Linked DNA regions of Homo sapiens: region 2 is linked to region 1. Evidence: promoter capture Hi-C in human tissues and cell types (Jung and others, 2019). All regions are on one chromosome and are shown on one strand. Each heading gives the region's core, a stretch centred on a gene start or on the middle of the fragment in contact. The rest is flanking DNA. Distances are from core to core; before and after follow the strand shown. Region 1 holds the start of DDR2 (discoidin domain receptor tyrosine kinase 2). Region 2 has its middle 14 kb from the start of UHMK1.

Region 1 (3,003 bases), core at 327-2,826:
TTGAATAGTGATTCCAAGCATAGGTTTTAGAGTCAGATATACATGAGTTTCAAATGTATTAGCTACCTTTCCTTGAGCAACTCATTTCGCTTCTCTAAGCGTTAATGTCCTTACATGTACGATAGAAATAATGCCTTACATAGCTGTGAGAGTCAATCAAATTATGTATGAAGAGCTCTGAGCATGAATTATGTATTATTTTGAGCCTGCTGCATAGAAAATACTCAGAATTTAGCTTCTTTTTATTTTACACACACACACAAATATAACCATAGACATCATTAGCTGATGAGCCGCCATTGGCGTCCTCTCTATTACTGATAATTAACGTCCTTGTGGTGACTTGCTCATCATACTGCCTCTATTGTCTCAGCCAGAATAAGCCTTAAAAAGGAAATGAAAGCAGAGGTATGGAGTGGAAAGAACACTGGACTAGCAGTAGAGAGAATCTCAATTTCATTTTCAGCTCCACTACAGATGTGCTGTGGGACTTGAACAGGTCGGTCCCCTTCCTATCATTTTTTACATCTGTGGAGCGAAGGGGTTAGATGAGAGGCCTAAGGCCCTTTTCAGGACTCTTAACTCTGTGTTGTAGGAAGCCAATGATCGGCAAAATGGTGCTGAACCCCCTACTGGCTTGAACAGTACGAACTCTTGCCTCAAATGGCTGGTCTGAGAGTTTCAGCCACTGGGAACAGTTCTCTTTCCCTTTGGATGGGACTCTTGAACCTAGGCCAGGACTCAGAGGTCCCAAATGAAAACAGCCCCAGTCATTCCATAACAAAGGGAAAGGCACCCAGAGCCAGCGAGGAGATGAGTCTGGGAAGCTGTATTTCACTGTCACAACTGAAAAATCTTCCATGCACCCAGCCTCCCCCTAGCCACCCCAAATCTCAGGGGGAAGCCACCCCTCATCCAAAGTTACCCTTCTCACAAGTAAATCAGCAACTCCCCTGAAAAACAAAAAGTGCTTGGTCTACACTATCTCCAAAACTCAGGACCTTCTAACACCACTACTAAATGTCTAAAAACTTAGCTCTCCTGCTCTGCCTTCTTCATCCTGAAACTAACTCTGCAATCGGCCTGTCTTGCCTGCCAACAATTTCAACTCTGCTAACACTGTTTATTGTATCTTGCAGCTGCTATAGATTCATTTATTTTGCTTCAGGCTTCTTTGGTTATTACTGCTCTTTATTCTTCCCTTCATAGCATAAATCCAGACCCCCAAAAACATGGGATCTGATTTCTCGAGTCTGTGGTGCCTCATTACGTTCCCTTCCTTGTCTGACTTAAAACGCCCTTCTGTTTCCTTTTTAAAACTTTTCCTGAAACACCAAAAGAAGTATATGCGGAGCTTTCATTTTCAAAAAAGAAAAAATAATAAAGAAAAAAGACCCACATAACTTACTTTCATCCAGGGGTGCACAGTTTTGGAAAGAAGAAAACAGAGCTATAATCCACTGCGTTTCCCCAACCCAAAAAGAAGAATTTGTTGTGAAACGCTTCTTTTTCCACTTTGCTGGTGAAGGAGCCCGGTGGTAGGCATACATCCACAGGCTGATGCAAGATGCCTTTGAGAGAAACCTCACATTCTGAGGATTCCTGGGAAAGCGCCAGGGATCCCAGCATCCAATATATTGCACATTTGGTTTCAATTAGGAAGGGGGTTGGGGAGGGAAGAAGGAAAGTCACCAATCAGAGCTGTTTTCTGTTTGGAGACTATTTCTTTTGACCCAAGGGACTATGGGCAAAGCTATAATTTACAGCAAAACCCATTCATAGAAGAAAAAATATGTATAACCATAGGACAGACTTAAAGACACCGCTCCCTTCTGCCTTATTCCCACCCATATCCATCTCCACTTCCTTCCCCTCCATCTAAGACTTGATCCCCTTCCTGTGATCCCCACCCCCCCGCCGCCTACCCCACACCTCATTTTTCTTACTTGAGCTGAAGCTATAAGCAAAACTTAAAGTTTGGAGTTTTCCAATTGAAGCTTCCAGGACAGTTGGGGCACACACGCGGAGCTGACCTTTAGTATTTTGACCATGAAAGCCTAGAGCTGAGCTCTCCCCCGAAAGATTTGATTTAATCCCTTCCCACCACGGCTCCCCCCACCAAGAAAACAACTGGAAACTGCCAGAATCCAGGATTCCTATTTTTTTCCACTCAATTCCCAGTTGGCTGCTGCCTCTGAGGGTCTGTTGCTGTCCTGGATTCATGCTGCTAAATGAAAACACAAGCATTTATAAGGACTTTCTAAATTATTTTGTGAACTTTTTTTTCCCTCCTTTATCTTCTCCCCGCTTCCACAGCTATAGTCAGAGATCATGTGAAAGGGGCGGGTAGGCAACAGGGGAGGAGCCTTCACTCCACTCTCCAAACGATAACTAATAACCCTCTCCATCCATCCAGGCTCCAGCCTTAACCCTTCAGAGCCTGGATCATTCCTGACCAAGCCCACGCTGGGCTGTTCTGGAGGTCCTGATTCTCCGTGAGTATGGAGAATGCAGGGCAAGCAGGGACCCAGGGGCAGGAGATCCAAAGAGAGAGGTAGATGGCAAAAGGCAGGTCAAGAAGACCGAGCTTACCTTTGAGAGCCAGACTTCTTGTAAAGAGACCTCCTTTCTCTGAGCTCTGGAGCTATCACCAGCTCTTCTCTGTTTGTAGTTAATCTGGGATTGCACAGTCTCCAAGATGAGCAAGAAAAGAAGTGAGCAAACAGGAAAGGGAGGATGGAAAGAGATCATGGAGGAACGTTCCCATAGTAAGTTAGGGGCAGGAGATGTTTCATAAGGGGAATGGAAAAGCGCACACACACACACACACACACACACACACACACACACACACACAATGAGGGTGGCCATGAAACTGAGAGCTAGTGTTGAGTCAGTGTTAAGTCCCTAAAAGTCTCATAAGCTCAGCACCAGTCTGAGGGTCAGAAAGCAGCCGTTAACATCTGTGCCTCACAGCTGTTACAGAAAAGGACACGGAGAACA
Region 2 (2,811 bases), core at 177-2,676, 150 kb after region 1:
TTGCGTGGTTCTCCCTCCTTACAAAGGATAACTCTTATCTAAGTCATTAGTATAAATAGAGAAAACTTTAGTTTTTCCTTTGTTGAAATGTGCTTGATTTTTTACCTTATCCAAGTGGGCCTAAAAGTCTTATAATAAATTTCTACTATGTAAGATATTAATGGGGTATATTATAACATATTTGATGGGCAAAAGTAGTTCTTCACCCTATCTAAAACTAATAATTACTTTATAGCCAACCTTTCTGGGAAAAAAATCGGTAGTTAAGCTTAACTTACCTTTTTAAAAATTAATCTCTTTCTTTTCATGAATTTTTAAAATTTAGAAGGCAGGCTGGGCATGGTGGCTCACACCTTTAATCCCAGCACTTTGGGAGGCAGAAGCGGGCAGATCACCTGAGATCAGGAGTTCAAGACCAGCCAGACCAACATGGTGAAACCCCATCTCTACTCAAAATACAAAAATTAGCAGGGTGAAGTGGCGGGCACTTGTAATCCCATCTACTCGGGAGGCTGAGACAGGAGAATCACTTGAACCTGGGAGGCAGAGGCTGCAGTGAGCCAAGATCACGCCATTGCACTCCAGCCTGGGTGACAGAGCAAGACTCTGTCTCAAAATAAAATAAAATAAATAAATAAATAAAATAAAATAAAATTCAGAAGGCAGATGACAAATTTCTGTTAAATAACTGACAAGCCAAAATGGTGTTTGATTTTTTTCTAAAGGTAGGCTTGGTTGATTTAACTTAAACAAAGACTGCACATTTATTTTGATTAATATTATTCACAACATAAAATTTTATTAACATTTATTGAATAGGTAAGCTATGAAAATCATAAACAAAACCAATATGAATAAAAATCTAGTATAAGATACAATTTTGTACAAGACTTAAAAGAGAACATTTTCTTACTGAGTGACATGATCAAGCTTAAATGTAAGCGTGGCAGTGACAAAATCATTATATACAGGTATTGATTTCTTGCATAAAAGTGTTATTTATTCATTTATTTAATAATAGCAATAGGGTCTTGCTATGTTGCCCAGGCTGGTCTCAAACTCCTGGCCTCAAGCAATCCTCTTGCCTCACCCTCCCAAAAATGTTGGGATTACAGGCGTGAGCCACTATGCCCAGCCAAAATTGTTATTTTTGAGGCTAAAAATGAAAAAGAAAATTTTCTTCTTTAATGTGAAACTTGGGCTTGTTTTTTATTGCACAAATAATTCTGAGTTGAAGTTTAATTCTGAATATTGAATTCTGAGTTTAAGATAAGCATACATGGATTTCATTTTCCAGTAAAATGAGACAATTTCTGTCTTTACTCTTCATACTTTCTATACTATAAAAAATTCTCACGGATTTAAGTAGTTAAAAACTGAAGCAAAGCCAGGTGTGGTGGCTCACTCCTGTAATCCCAGCACTTTGGGAGGCTGAGGCGGGTGGATCATTTGAGGTCAGGAGTTCGAGACCAGCCTGGCCAATATGGTGAAACCCCATCTCTACTAAAAATACAAAAATTAACTGGGCGTGGTGGCGGGCACCTGTAATCCCAGCTACTACGGAGGCTGAGGCAGGAGAATCGCTTGAACCCGGGAGGTGGAGGTTGCAGTGAGCCAAGATTGTGCCATTGCACTCCAACCCGGGCAACAGAGCAAGACTCTGTCTCAAAAAACAAAAAAACAAACAACAACCAAAAAAAACTGAAGCAAATTATTGTTTTCCTATGAATAGCAGGATATTTTCATTTTACCAAATTCCAGAACTTGTCTAGGAGCAGGTCAGTAAATCTCATCTTTTGTATATGAACAGATTATACCTTACAGAGCTCTTTCTTGTCTCTCAAAGCCAAGAGTAGACGCATTAGAAAAAAAGATCCCTGGCGGGCGCAGTGGCTCACGCCTGTAATCCCAGCACTTTGGGAGGCCGAGGAGGTGGATCACGAGGTCAGGAGATCAAGATCATCCTGGCTAACACGGTGAAACTCCGTCTCTACCAAAAATATAAAAATTAGCAGGGCGTGGTGGTGGGCGCCTGTAGTCCAGCTACTCGGGAGGCTGAGGCAGGAAAATGGTGTGAACCCAGGAGGCGGAGCTCGCAGTGAGCCGAGATCGCGCCACTGCACTCCAGCCTGGGAGACAGAGCGAGACTCCGTTTCAAAAAAAAAAAAAAAAAAAAAAAAAAAAAAAAAAAAAAAAATCCCTTACCAAGTCACACACTTGGATTGAAAGAAGACAAAACACTGTTCAATTTTGTTATGCATTTCTTTCTGATTTTTAAAAAGCTTTAAATTTTGGCCGGGAGCAATGGCTCACGGCTGTAATCCCGACAGTTTGGGAGGCAGAGGTGGGAGGATCACTTGAGAACAGGAGTTGGAGACCAGCCTGGCCAACTTAGTGAAACCCCACCTCTACTAAAAATTAAAAAAAGTTAGCCAGGTGTGGTGGTGGGCACCTGTAATCCCAGCAACTTGGCAGGCTGAGGCAGGAGAATTGCTTGAACCTGGGAGGTGGAGGTTGCAGTGAGCTGAGATCACGCCACTGCACTCCAGCGTGGGCGACAGAGCAAGATTCCGCCGCAAAAAAAAAAGAAAAAAAATGTTTTAAATTTTTAATTATTATGGGCACGTAATAGTTGTATATATTTATGGGGTACATATGATGATTTGCAACAAGCATATAATATGAAATGATCAAATCACAGTCATTGGGGTATCCATCACCTCAAGCATTTATCATTTCTTTGTGTTAGGAACATTCAAATTTCACTATTTTTGTTATTTTTTAACTTACAATAGATTATTGTTAACTATA

The links. The method cuts DNA at HindIII sites, captures the fragments that hold promoters and counts their contacts. A contact is called where the count stands out against the background at its distance.
Region 2: a fragment that was not itself captured here is called in contact with the fragment with the promoter of DDR2 in region 1 in 1 of the 25 tissues and cell types used here (spleen).

Annotation. Positions count from the first base shown.
Region 1 is chr1:162,631,037-162,634,039 of GRCh38, reverse strand. It overlaps DDR2 (discoidin domain receptor tyrosine kinase 2), which reads right to left and starts at 1,576. Exons shown (of 18, transcript NM_006182.4): 1 at 1,409-1,576. RefSeq lists an enhancer at 2,729-2,828. The HindIII fragment of the contact is 26,458 bases long and covers 1-3,003 here.
Region 2 is chr1:162,482,419-162,485,229 of GRCh38, reverse strand. No RefSeq gene overlaps it. Among named protein-coding and RNA genes, the nearest start is that of UHMK1, 14 kb to the left of the region's middle. The HindIII fragment of the contact is 3,180 bases long and covers 1-2,811 here.